Regions from separate parts of the Homo sapiens genome. Here all the other regions are linked to region 2. The links are contacts of gene promoters, found by promoter capture Hi-C in blood cells and fetal thymus (Javierre and others, 2016). All regions are on one chromosome and are shown on one strand. The core of a region is centred on a gene start or on the middle of the fragment in contact, and the rest is flanking DNA. Distances in the headings are between cores, read along the strand shown.

Region 1 (4,434 bases), core at 1,777-4,276, 2.2 Mb after region 2:
GGAAGGAATGCATTCCCAGGGGTAGGCCTATAGACGACCGCTCTGGGAGTGTCTGTCTTATGTGGTTGAGATAAGGGATGAAATACGCCCCGGTCTACTGCAGTGCCTTCAGGCTTACTAGGATTGGATTGTAAATTCCAGCCTAGTGAATTCTAGTCAGACCAGTTGTCTGCTCTCGAACCCTGTTTCCTGTTAAGATGTTTATCAAGACAATGCATGCCCAGCGGGACATGGACCCTCATCAGTAATTCTAATTTCACCCTTGCCTTGTGATCCTGCTCTGCCCTTTTGCCTTGTGATCTTTTATTGCCCTTTGAAGCATGTGATCTCTGTGACCCACTCCCTATTCGTACATCCCTCCCCTTCTGAAATCTCTAATAAAAACTTGCTGGTTTTGAGGCTTGGGGTTGCCATCACGGTCCTACCAATATGTGATGATGCCCCAGGAAGCCCAGCTGTAAAATTTCTCTCTTTGTACTCTTTCTCTTTATTTCTCAGACCAGCTGACACTTAGGGAAAATAGAAAAGAACCTACATTGAAATATTGGGGGCTGGTTCCCCCGATACTCTGGCAAGCTAAGTTTATCCAGATGACTACGTTCTATTTAGCTGGATGGAAATGGTGAGTGGAAGACTTCCTTGAAGTCTCTTGAGGGCAGAGACATATCCTTCTTTACTTCTTGCTCCTGCCTGCTGTGTGGAATATGGAAGCCCCAGAGTTTCTTACTTCCAGGCTGCTGATATGTGAGAGCAAAATGAAGCTCTAAATTTTGAAGAGTTTTTATTTTTAATTTCCAAGAATGCTTTTTTGTTCTCTGAATGTTCCTTTTTAAAAGCAGCATTTTATTCTTTTTTGGTGATACAGTATCTTATTTTTAAAGAATATTAAGGGTTTTTTTTCCATTTTCCTCTGCTTCTTGCATTATTTCTGTTACCACTGAGTTAATTTTTTTCTGTATATTTATTTTGATCTTTGTCATTTATGTTAGAGGCTTTCCTCAATTTTCTGGTAATCATTAGCTGTCTGTTTATATTAAAGAATGAGGCACTAGGCTGGGCACAGTGGCTCACACTTGTAATCCCAGGGCTTTGGAAGGCCAACGTGGCAGGATTGCTTGAGGCCAGGAGTTTAGGACCAGCCTGGGCAATATAACAAAACCCTATCTCTACAAAAAAAAAAAATAATAAATTATCAGGACATGGTGATGTACACCTGTATTCCCCATTACTTGGGAGACTGTGGAGGGAGGATCACTTGAGCCCAGGAGTTTGAGACTGCAGTGAGCTATGATGGTGTCACTCTACTTCCACCTAGGCAATAGAGTGAGACCCTGTCTCAAAAAAGAAAGAAAAAAAGAATGAGGTACTATAAAGATAACAGTGTGTAATGGGGCTTGTTGACTAGTTGGTCTCTCCACAGGGAATAAGGTGGGATCCAGAAATTTCTTGGGTACTTCTAAATGCCAGTATCTCTAGGTATTTTATCGTGGGTTAGTCAATGTCCCCATAGAAAGATTATTTGCCTAGTAGAATAAGCCTGGGTGCTTGGACTGATTAAGTCATAGATGAGTGGATGATGGTGCCCAGAAAGAAGTCTTGAAGTGTTCAAGTGGAAATTGCCCAGGGTTAGTGATCCTCAGTTGCAGAAGTCCTCCTGATTCTAGCATGAATGGATAATACAACTTTCTTGAGAGAGGAGTCAAAGACTCTTCTCTTTTTCACTTTCTTCTTGGGGTACCTGAAGATGTCTAGAAGAATCTTTTGGTTGGCTGTTGGTGTATCCACTGATTTCTTTATCTCCCAGCTTATCTCATTTTCTTCCAGGAACCTCTCTAGGTTGTGAGGGGAGACCAAAAACCAACTAGATATCCACTCCACTTTAAAGCTTTGTCTGGTTAAATAAAATGAACCTTATAAGAAATGCTTAGCTCTTTTGGGAAAAAGTGATCTGTCTCTGTAATAATCTCTCCATACCCAGCAGTGCTTCTTTCCCTAAGGTGGCTTTCAGGAGTATGGTAAGAGAGGGCTTATGAGATCTTATAGCTTTGAAAAATAAGCTCTCTAGTGCCAGATAGTATACTTGCACATTCAGAAATGTAGTCCCCAAGTATTAAAGGACACTATCAATATAGAGAAAGGGCAACTCACAGGATATTTGCAAATCATATATCTGATAAGGGATTAATGTCCAGAATATATTTCTTTAAACCCCTACAACTCAAAAAGAAAACAATCTGATTCAAAAATGGGCAAGGGACTTGAATAGACATTTCTCCAAAACAGAAGTACAAGTCGCCAATAAGCACAAAAAAAGATGCTCAACATAACTGATCATTAGGTAAAGGCAAACCAAACGGAGTGGTAGCTCATGCCTGTAATCCCAGCAGTTTGGGAGGCTGAGTTGGCAGGATCATTTGAGTCCAGGCACAAGACCACCCTAGGCAACAAAGTGAGACCCCATATCTACAACAAATTTAAAAATTAGCTGGGCATGGTGGCACGTGCCTGTAGTCCAGCTACTTGGCAGGCCAAGGTGGAAGGATTGCTTGAGCCCAAGAGTTGAGGCTGTAGTGAGCCATGATCACGCCACTGAACTCCAGCTCGGGTGAAAGAACAAGACCCTGTCTTGAAAAATAAATGAAATAAAATTGCATTCTGAGTTATGGGAAAAATAAAATAAAATGCAAACCAAAACCTGGATAAGGTACCATTTCACACTCATTAGGATGGCTATTATTTAAAAAAAAAAAAAAAAAAAACAGAAAAGAAACTACTGTTGGCAAGGATGTGTAGAAATTGGAAACTTCGTACATTGTTGGCGGGAATGCAAAATGGTGCAGCCACTGTGGAAAACAGTACGGTGGTTCCTCAAAAAATTAAACATAGAGTTACTATATGGCCTAACAATTCTACTTCAGAATATATACCCAAAATAATTGAAAGCAGGCCCTTGAACAGATATTTGCATACCAACATTATTCACAATAGGCAAAAGATAGAAACAACCCAAATGTCCATCAATGGATGAATTGATAAACAAAATAGGACATATACCTATAATGATGCTACTCAGCCTTAAAAAGAAAAGAAATTCTGATACTTAAACGTGGGAGACATAAAGCCAAACACAGAAGGACAAATATTACATAATTTCACTTACACGTGATACCTAGAGCAGTCAAATTCACAGATACAGAAAACAGAATGGTGATTTCCAGGGGCTGGGGTAAGGGGAGAATGGGGAGTTAGTGTTTAATGGGTACAGAATTTTTGTTAGGAATGATGAAAATGTTCTGCAGGTGGATTGTGGTGATGATTGCACAAAAATGTGAATGTACTTACTGTAACTGAACTGTACACTTAAAATAGTTAAGATGGTAAATTTTATATATATTTTACCACAATTAAATTTTAAAAAATGAAATGATGTAATCTTCAAGGTTGAAGATTTATTGCCCTAATAGCAATAGGATGTGGGGAAGGGTGATGGGCTTCTCTTGCCTCCCTCCCTCTCATTGACATCATCTCCTACAACTTTATGACTGGTTTTTGTCTCATATCTGTCCCTGCCCACCACCACCAGATACCCACATTGCTACCTCATTCCTTCATTGTCTTTTGGCTTCCATAGTTTCTGATAAGAAATTTGCTGTAATTCTTATCTATTTTTTCCCCTCTGTATGTTTCCCAGCCCCTTCCTGCTCTTCACTTCTTCACATCTCTGTTCAATGGTCTTTCCTCAAACAGCTCTTAAACTAACCATTCTACTTAAAATGGCCATATTTTTTTTCTGCCTGCTTTTAAGACTTTTCTCTTTATCACTGGTAATAGCCAGCCATGAATTTATAATAGATGGCACCAGTGGTAGGAAGTGAGACGAGAGAAGTTCATCAACCCTTCCTTACATCCCATTGCTATCCTGGTAATAAAGGTTCATCCTCAAGGAGTATTTCTGACTGCTCAAGGACACCACGTGGACCAGAAGAGCCTGTTTTTCAAACCTATGAGATTGTGTAAACTTTCTCTCATCATACACCGGAAGGCCAATTCAGGGAAAGAAGCAGTGGAGGGTATGGGGATGCTATCCTAGAGAGAGATTTTTTTTTTTCTAAAAGACACATGTTTCTTGCAGGCGTCATTTAAATTATGTAATCAAATAAAGCTTTAAACCAGAGTTGGCAGCCCTAAATGGATGTACACCTAATACACAACTTCAAAATACATGGAGCAATGTGAATAGTGATCCTGGAGTTGTGCACTGTAGTGGCTCTGCTTATTAGCCCCTTCCCACTCTTCACTTCTTCACATTATTCACATCTCTGTTCAGTGCTGTTTCCTCAAACAGCTCTTAAACTAACCATCCTACTTAAAATAGCCATTTCCCCAACCATCCCATGACTCTGCTTTATTTTCCTTTGTAGCATTTATTCACAA
Region 2 (4,279 bases), core at 110-2,609:
CCCTGGAATATTCACCAGACAAAACAACAACTACTGCTCATTAGTGACAAAACTCTACACCTTCACTGTCTGTGATGATGGAACTGTTCCATTATCTGCTCTGTCCAACATGGTAGCCACTAGCCTAGTGTGGCTGCTGAGCACTTGAAAACCGGTAAGAACAGACGCATGGAATTTTTCATTTAATTTATTTTTAACTCTTACTCAAAACTATAATAGTTTTCTCTTTAAGATGTAAAAAGCCACACGTGGCCAGTGGCTACTGTACTGAGCAGGGCAGGTCTTGCTCCTCGAAAAGCAGTAAGTTAAAAAAAGGGGGGTAAGGGCAGCAAATTAAATGGAGAGTTATTTTCAAAATGATCTTCGGGGGTCTACCATGAAATCGGCTTTCTCCATTGTGTATTATCTGTGCTTTGTAGTTTTGCAGACTGTTTGGAGCCGCATCACAAGCCTCCTGCATTCCAAGCCCCTCCTATCGGCTGGGGAACCCCTTTATTGCTACAAATGATGGTCCAGGGGAGGAAAACCCGCGGGGAGCCTCTCCAGACTAAGTGATCGCGCGGTGTACATTATCCACATTACTCCCTCAGGGGAGTCCTGCAATTCAGTCAAGCTCATCTGTTCACTGTCTCCCCAACAAGATGCTCCCCAGGCAACCACTCGCTCCGGTCCTACACCGCCTTTTCCCTCCTTCAAGGCTCGACACACCCGTGGTCCTCTCTCAGCGTTTCTCACGGGGAATGCAGGCTCCCCTGAACGTCTACGGGAGTTCAAAAGGCCCAGGACCCACCGAGGGGGAGGAAACGAGAAGTCTTTGCCACAAAGCCTGGGAGACGCGGAGCAGCCGGCCGGCACCTGGGCTGGAGTCTGGGCCGCCTACTAGCCTCAGCTGCGCGCGTTTTCTCCGTCAGGCGGCGTGACCTGCGGGCGGGCGGAGCGCTCGGGGCCCAGCCTCCACCCCCAACTCGCCGCGGCTCCACACCCCTCCCCGGCCCGCCTCACCTTCTCCAGGGAGGTCCGCTCGCCCTCCGAGTAGCGGTGCTGCGGGGGCGACAGCGGAGGCAAAATCCTGCCGGGGTGCGCCTGCAGCCAGGCCTTGGCCTCCTCGTCCTCCTCGTCGTCTATACTTTCCAGATGCTGGGGCCCGTAGTGAGAGTCGGAGTCCAACTCCCGCCCCGCCTCTTCCTCCACCTCCTCCACGACCACTACGTCGTCCACGTTCGCCGCCGCCGCCGCTGCAGCCTCCTCCTCTTCCTCCTCCTCCTCCTCCTCCTCCTCCTCCTCCTCCTCCAGCTCGCCCGGCCATGGCAGATCCTCGGGCTCCATGTTGGTGTCTCGCTCTGGGCGGCAGAGGAGGAGGAGGAGGGGGGGAGGGAGGGGAAGGGGAGAGCCCTGACTGGCGGTTGTGGCCCAGCTTAGGCGCAGTGCCGCCCGCCTGGGCGGGGCCGGAAGACCGCGCGCGCGTTGCTAGGGACGCCGCGCGAGGCCCGGCGGGAACGCCTTAGGGCGGAGGTTTGCTACAGGCGACGTTGCCGCCTCGCCGCCGTCACCGGCCGGGACCTTGCGAACTGTACTGTAAGCTCACAATAAACCGGGACTGGGCGCCTTCCGGGGCGCAGAGGGCCCCGCGCAAGGACAGTGTAGTTCTCGGCTGGGGTCGAGTTTCGCCCCTGCACAGAGAAGAGATCAAACTCTAGGACGTACCCGTTATAATCACACATGCAAATTATAAAGTTTTAAAGGTTGAGTATCTCCTAAAGTGTCAAGCTGTATGGTGGGCGCTTGAACCTAACCGTGGAAAAGTGTCACGGGTTGTTAGAGGGATTAAGAACTGGGCACTGGCATCAGAAAGATCGGAGTTTGAATCCTGGCATCACCACTTAAAGTGGTGTGACTTTGTGTTTATAAAACGATGATAATAGGCCATCGCATAGGATGGGTGTGATAATTAAAGGAAATAATCAATGTGAAGGACTTAGTGATAGGTTGGTTATTGTACAATAACTCATTAGATGCTCACGGTTCTGTGAGACAAGTATTACTATTTCATGTATGAAGAATCTGAGGCTAAAAAAATTAATTTGCCCAAAGTTTCTTACCTAGTAAGTGGCTGACTCAGTATGCCATCCCAGGTCCTCTGTTAGTGTAGGAATTGCCCTGGCCTAGACCAACCAGCTGTTAAAGGATAACAGAGCAAATATTTATACTGATAGTACATATGTTTTGGTGGTTCGTCAATGACTTTGGAGTGCTTTAAAAACAAAGATTTCCTGACCGCTTCAGGAACCTCTACGAAATGAATGGCAAATTAAAGTATCTTAAGATGCCATGTAACCAGACACCACCTGTACCCCCAATAACCTATGGGGAAAATTTTTAAATTAAAATTTTAAATAATAATTATAATCTTGAGATGCTTCACTGTTACCAAAGGAAATAGCCATAATTAAAGTGGAGTCCAGCAAAAAGTCTTCATGGTATTACCCACAATAGTAGAGATACATTGATAATGATGCTGAACCAATGTTGGTGGGGCAATTTTAGGGTTATTGCCAAGGATGTATGTCCTGCCTACCTGTCAATGACCCAATCCTGGCAAAACTTTAAGGGTAGAACATGAACTGGAGCCCAGTCTTGGAGTTCTGTTGAACACCTCTAAATGGACTATGAGTACATTAGGGTTATTTATTCTTAAGGGGTTTAGGGGTTCTCCTTGCCGGAGACCTATTACTGTAATAGTAGAAAAGAATTTATTAATTTTGTATTCCTGAATGTGAAATCTCAATGTTTATCTCCAGTAAGAGGACACACATTTCACTGATATTAAATAACTGTAAAGCTTTACCTTTTTAGAAACTCCGCTATCTTTTTGCATCCACAAATTTCAGGAAAGATAAAGAGAACTAATAGAATTCTAAAAAATAGCTTTCAAAGTTCTCTAACTTCCATCTAACTTCCAAAGCCCAAAGTACTTCTATTTGCCTTGATGGCAATAAGGTCAGTCCATTCTAAGGCCCATAAGTTATCTCCTTCTGAGTTAATAACAGGCTTCCTCATGTATTTGTGAATTACTTCCAATACTAGATGCTACTAATATAAGCTGTTATCACTAATTGCTGCAGGAGACTTCTAAGATTAACTCCTGCTTTATCAACAACAGATGGAAGCTGCATTCTCAAAGCACCCACCTAAGCAGCTTCTGAAGTTAGAGATTTGGTCTTCTGAAAAAGCATTAGAAAACAATTTCCCTTGAGCCTCAATGCAAGAAAAAAAAATGTCAGGTACTATCAACAACTGACCCAGGAGTAAAACTAGAAGACATTGATCCCTGGATTCATATTACACAACTAAAAAGACATGCATCATTTTCTCCTGGCTACCGGACATCCCATACTATTGGAAGACCTCAAACTGAAGATTCCTGGGACTTCCCCAGAAGCTGCTTACTGCAGAAATGGGCAGTTTATACCCAAGACAACAGGACAAGATTAATTTCTGATTCCTTGGCATCTCTTACCCTACCACTAATCTTGCTTATTGCATTTTGACACCCTTGATTAACTAACAAATTGATTTCTCGGGGAGATAACCCTTATCTTCATCCTGTTACTTTTGACTCCCTATGTTCTACTACTTAAAGTAAACATTATTTGGCCAGGTGCAGTGGGTCATACCTGTAATTCCAGCACTTTAGAAAGCCAAGGTGGGAAGATCACTTGAGACCAGGAGTCTAACTAACGTAGGCAATGTAGCAAGACCCCCATCTCTAAAAACAATAAAAAATTAGCTGGGCATGGTGGCACGTATCTGGAGTCCCAGCTACTCAGGAGGCTGAGGCAAGAGGGTCCTTGAAGCTCAGGAGTCCAAGACTGCAGTGAGCTGTGATCGTGCCAATGGGCAACAAAGTGAAACCCAATCTAAAAAAGAAAGAGAGAAAGGGAGAAGAGAGAAAGAGAAAGGAAAGGAAAGGAGGGGAAAGGGGAAAGGGAAAGAGAAAGGAAAGGGAAGGAAAAAAAGAAAAGAAAAGAGACACTTTCTGGAGTGTTTTTCTCAAACCGTAGCTACTGCTTTTAAGGAATTGTTGACAAAATTTAATAACTGTGCTTTCATAGACTTCATCAAGTAGATTTTCTTCTGTAGGTCACTTCTGGTACTTAAGCATTCCCCACAAAGTTCATCCCAAACCTCAGTCTTCTAAAAATTGGACCTTGACCTACACTTCAACAGAATGTTTCCCTGAAGTCATTACAATCCTATGAGAAAAACCTAGCCCTTCAGG
Region 3 (4,504 bases), core at 1,728-4,227, 2.3 Mb after region 2:
GGGAGATGGAGAGAGGTAAGCTTGGTTTGGTATACACGAGGTTTGCCTGTGTCTGCAGAACATCTCACATATATGTCCAGGGAGTAGCTGGAGCTACCGCAACTTGGGAGAAAGATCTGAACCAGGAGTAAATAATAGCTAACATTTAATGAGTGCTTATGGGTCAGGCTCTATACTAACCACTTTGCAATGTATCATGCCATTTTACTTTCCCAACAACTCTGAGGTAGCTACTATTCACATTTTCCAAATGAGGAAACTGAGGCTTAGAGAAGGTGAGTAACCTACACAGGGTTACGCAGATACTGAGCAGCAAAGCTGGGATTCAAACCAAGGTCTCAGCAGCTCTCCAAAGCCCTGTGCTCTTCCAACACATTTGTAGTTTGTAGGTGGCAACTGAAGCCATGAGACTGGGTGAGATTATGACAGTTTTGACACCAGGGACTAAGTCTTGGAGGTCTTTCCCTCTGCAGTCATCAAACTCATCTAGTCCAAACTTGCTAGCTGTCTCAGTGTCACAGATGGCTGAATTCCCAGGCTCCGCCCCAGACTCACCAAGCTTCGCAGCGGTACCAGAGGATCCACCCCTGCTTTCCGTTTGGCCCTGTTCACCATCTCATTGATCCTCTCCACACACTTGTCTGTCCCGATCAGCTGGCCCCAATCAAGGGAAGAAGGAGTTACAAAGGCTTACAGAAGCTATGTTGCCCCCACAGGCTGCTCTGTGAGTCCCAGCCACCACCTCAACAGGAATTACAGAGAATAAAATCAGAACCAAGCCCTCTGATCCCCTCAGTGTGGTTTTTACCCAGTGGTTTGTGCTCAGTCCATCTGCTTCTGCCAGGATCTTCCCATCCTCTGAGACTAAAAGGACCTCGGATCGTGTGCCTCCCCTACAGAACACAAGAGGGCACTTGATCTTGCTCGGAAAAACCCACAGAGAGAGCTAAGCTTGTGCTGTCCACACTGGCAGAGCCCAGTATGATGGAGGAGACAGCTTCGACAAACTCAATCACCACTCCCAAACCCGCCTCTGTGGTTCAGTGTTTGAGTGCTCTTTAACTGAAACATAATTCTCACTCCTCTTCCCTTGGGGATGTCCTCCTTATCCTGCAAGACTCTACTTACGCTTCACCTAGTCCTCGAAACCTTTTCTGAGGTGTGGCCCACCCCAACGAATTAGTTAAGTCTCCGTTAGTTAAACCTTCATAGTGCCTCCAAAGTTATTAAAGTCTCCTCTGTATGAAGTGTGTGTTCAGACGCTTTGTGTCCGCCTCTCACTAGACTTCAAGCTCCACTGGGTCAAGCTCCTGATCACTTACTTACCCTCTCAGAACGAGCACAGGAGCTGGCACAGGCAATGCTCAGCAAACACTCCTAAGAAAAATGGCACATCTCTCTGCTTCCCTCACAATAGCTAAAGACTGCATTTCAAGATCCAGCTGCCAAGGTCTTCAAGACACCTTTGCTAGAAATGCTGACCAGATGGCAGGGTGACTTCATACATACTTAAGCAACTAAACCTTCAAATGTTGATTACTGGGGGTCACAGTAGTTCACAGGGAGATCTGTGGTGATGGGATATATGTTTCTTTATTGATCATTACTTTTAGGAATGGCAGAAGAAGACACTGAAGACCGCTCATCAAACTCAAAGAGGACATGAAATTTCAAGGGGGTAGTTAATACATGAGGTGGCAGATTCCACATCCAAAAGCATGTCTTGACGAACTGGAAGAAACGGGTCATATCTTACAGATGACTATAACAAGGATGAATGCAGACTCCTATACTGTTTTTTTTAAGTGCTACAAATACAGGATGGGAAAGATCATTCCTAACAATTCATGTGAAAAGACTTTGGGGTCTGTGAATCAGCAGTGGGGTGTGGCTGCCAGAGAAGTGAAAACAATCACAGATTCGAAAGTACAGTGCCCTGGCTGAGAGGCCAGCGACCCCCATTATTCCCTGATTTGACAAACTCAGATTCACAGAATGTTGCCACTGGCAGGGACATAGCGATCTTATTTATCCCTATCCTCACTTTGCACATACGGTAACTGTAGCCCAGGGAGGGTAAATATCTTGTCCATGGTCATACCCAGGGGCAGAGCTATTACAAAAAGTTCAGTAAACAAGCTTCTGAGCAGAAAAATGCAATCTAGTGAAAGCAGCATGGAAGGCCAACAGGGATGGAGCGGTTTTCAGACATCAGGACAACCTAGTACTCTGGCTCGCAGCTGCTCCAGCTCCCGGATAACCTCAGCCAAGATCTTTGTCCCGCTTCTCCCCACTCCCACTCCCCACCCTGCCCGCGCTCAGCAATTTCACACCTGACACCTGTTCTGCAAAACTCTGTCCGAGGTCAGGAATAGGAAAAAGGAGCTGCTTCTCCAGCTGAAGACAGCGGAGTGGGTGTTTCGTGGAAGAAAGGGGCGTGGTTCCGCCAAGAAACACAAAGGATCCCCAACCCGGGGTGTGGCTGTTGCACAGGCAGAGTCCCCGTAAGGCATACAGCTGTGCGCTCCAGGGCGCCCCTGCGCGTGCACACACCTCTTCACCGCAAGGTCCCGCCGCCCAAAGTGCCCGGACGCCGAGGATCAAGGCCACCAGCTTGCCAGGCTGGCCACGGCCTTCCGCCCCGCCTTCGGGCCCAGGCTCCCTCCGCCGGGCCGCACTCACCCCTCTACACCCCCATAGATCGCGGCCATGCTGCTGCTACCGTCGCTGCTGGTCCCGCCGTTTGCGTCTCTCCCCGCCTGACACCTCCTTCCCTCCAGCTGTCTGGGCACCGCCCCACTTCCCGTGACCTCCCGCGCAGCCAGCTGACTCCCTGTGCGCGTGCGCATGCGCGGGGCGGGGCGCCGGTAGGAGCCGGGGATGGCTGCGTCCCTCAGGCTGTCTTCCTTCTGGTGTCTCCTCCAGGTGGAGCGACTGCGGTCCGCAGCGGCCCCTCCCGTCCTCCTGGATCCTGCTTCCAGAGATGGACACTAATCCCAAGAGGAGGAATCAAAGAGGGGTATCTAGGTCGGTCGGACCCTTAGGACACATCACTGACCTGCCTGCCTGTAAACGCCCGGAAGTTGCTGGCAGTCCCGCGTTAGGTTGCGCGTGCGCACTGCTCTTGGCCGCGTAGGTTGTGACGCATGCTCGGCCAGACCCCCGCGAAGCTGTGGGCTCAGGGACCTGCGCCCATGGACCTGTAACAGAAATTACTGTAATGTTCTACTGAACATCTGCCACGCGATGGCGAGTCACACGGGCACACACGAACACTCGCTCAGATTGTTGCCCTGCGCTCGTGTGAATGTACGGATCCGGGAGGAATTGGGACCTAAACAGACAAGCCCTCGAGGCGGTCCCGGCAGCCCTGAGGAGGGAGCCTTCACCTCTTCCTACCCACCCAGTTTACTTCTTGTGGAGGATATTTGCAGGGACATAGCCCACTGGGAGAACTAGCAGATACGGCTTTACAAGTTTTTTATTGCCTTTCAGCCCCCATTCCGCTCCCCTTCCTTGCGCTGCGTCGGGAAAGGGAATGGGATCCCTAGGGGTGCAAATACAGGCCAAGTCAGGGAGAGCTGTGGCTCCTGAGGGCCTCCTCTGGCTCCTCCGGGAAGTTTTGGGCCCTCAAGGAGCAGCTTCGCGGGCCAGGAGGGCGGTTAGCTGCCCTTGGCATCTTTTTGGGGAAATCAGTTGGCCTGTCGCGGGTCGAACTCTGTCCCCCTTGACTGCCTGCCATCTTCTGGAGAAACCCCTAATAGGCTGCTGTGTCTGGTTATGCTTTAGTGAGAAAATTAGGCTTTTTAAGCTTTCTCATTTCCTACCCTACCACGTTGTAATTCACAAAAGTAAAAAGTAAATCACTACATGATAGACTCTGTATCATGTATTCATTTATAGAATATATATCATATATTCTATATCAGATGGAGAATATAATAGAGGGTAGGATTTTTTTATGCCTGCCTATGGCATTTTTTTAATTCACAGCACTTTAGAGCTGGAAGATTATCCAACATACACATTTTTAGAATTACAGTTAGTAGATTGTGGTGCAATTAAACTGGGCAGGATTTTTGGAGACTAGATTGTAGGTGGATTTTGAAATAATTGTTTCTGTCCTGTACTACTGCAATGAGCCATGGGACGTATGTGTATAAATATTAAGTTTGTCTTTGTATTGCTTGTTTAGGCAAGCAAGCAAAAGGGAAAGTGCCCAGGTTTAAGACAAGAATTGAGTTCACCATTTACTAGCTGGATGAGCTTGGGTGACTTACAGGTAATTGCTGCAGCCTCTCCTCTACAAAATGGAAATGATAAACATCTACCTGCTGGGGCTGACGCAAGATTTAAATGCCAAAAGAGTTTTGGAAACCATAAAGTACTTCACAGATCTTAACTAACTTGTATTTACATTACCAATTAGTGTGTGCTGTCCTGCACAGTATCCATATGTGAATACTGAGCACTTGAAATGTGGTTAGTCCAAAATGAGATGTCC

What was found. Contacts are between HindIII fragments. The CHiCAGO score rates a contact against its expected background, and 5 or more counts as called.
Region 1: a fragment that was not itself captured here is called in contact with the fragment with the promoter of ALMS1 in region 2 in 2 of 17 cell types (total CD8 T cells and non-activated CD4 T cells); the score reaches 7.2 in total CD8 T cells.
Region 3: a fragment that was not itself captured here is called in contact with the fragment with the promoter of ALMS1 in region 2 in 1 of 17 cell types (fetal thymus); the score reaches 6.3 in fetal thymus.

What each region holds. Positions count from the first base shown.
Region 1 is chr2:71,228,911-71,233,344 of GRCh38, reverse strand. No RefSeq gene overlaps it. Among named protein-coding and RNA genes, the nearest start is that of PAIP2B, 4.0 kb to the right of the region's middle. The HindIII fragment of the contact is 2,277 bases long and covers 1,888-4,164 here.
Region 2 is chr2:73,382,916-73,387,194 of GRCh38, reverse strand. It overlaps ALMS1 (ALMS1 centrosome and basal body associated protein), which reads right to left and starts at 1,359. Exons shown (of 23, transcript NM_001378454.1): 1 at 1,003-1,359. The coding sequence starts at 1,326. LOC105374804 (a long non-coding RNA gene) reads left to right here and starts at 1,514. Exons shown (of 4, transcript XR_007087053.1): 1 at 1,514-1,742. RefSeq lists enhancers at 571-810, 851-1,600 and silencers at 871-1,040, 1,201-1,600. The HindIII fragment of the contact is 2,912 bases long and covers 1-2,841 here.
Region 3 is chr2:71,066,891-71,071,394 of GRCh38, reverse strand. NAGK (N-acetylglucosamine kinase) reads right to left here and starts at 2,747. Exons shown (of 10, transcript NM_017567.6): 1 at 2,683-2,747; 2 at 809-893; 3 at 556-654. The coding sequence starts at 2,711. RefSeq lists a silencer at 2,462-2,521. The HindIII fragment of the contact is 1,672 bases long and covers 2,142-3,813 here.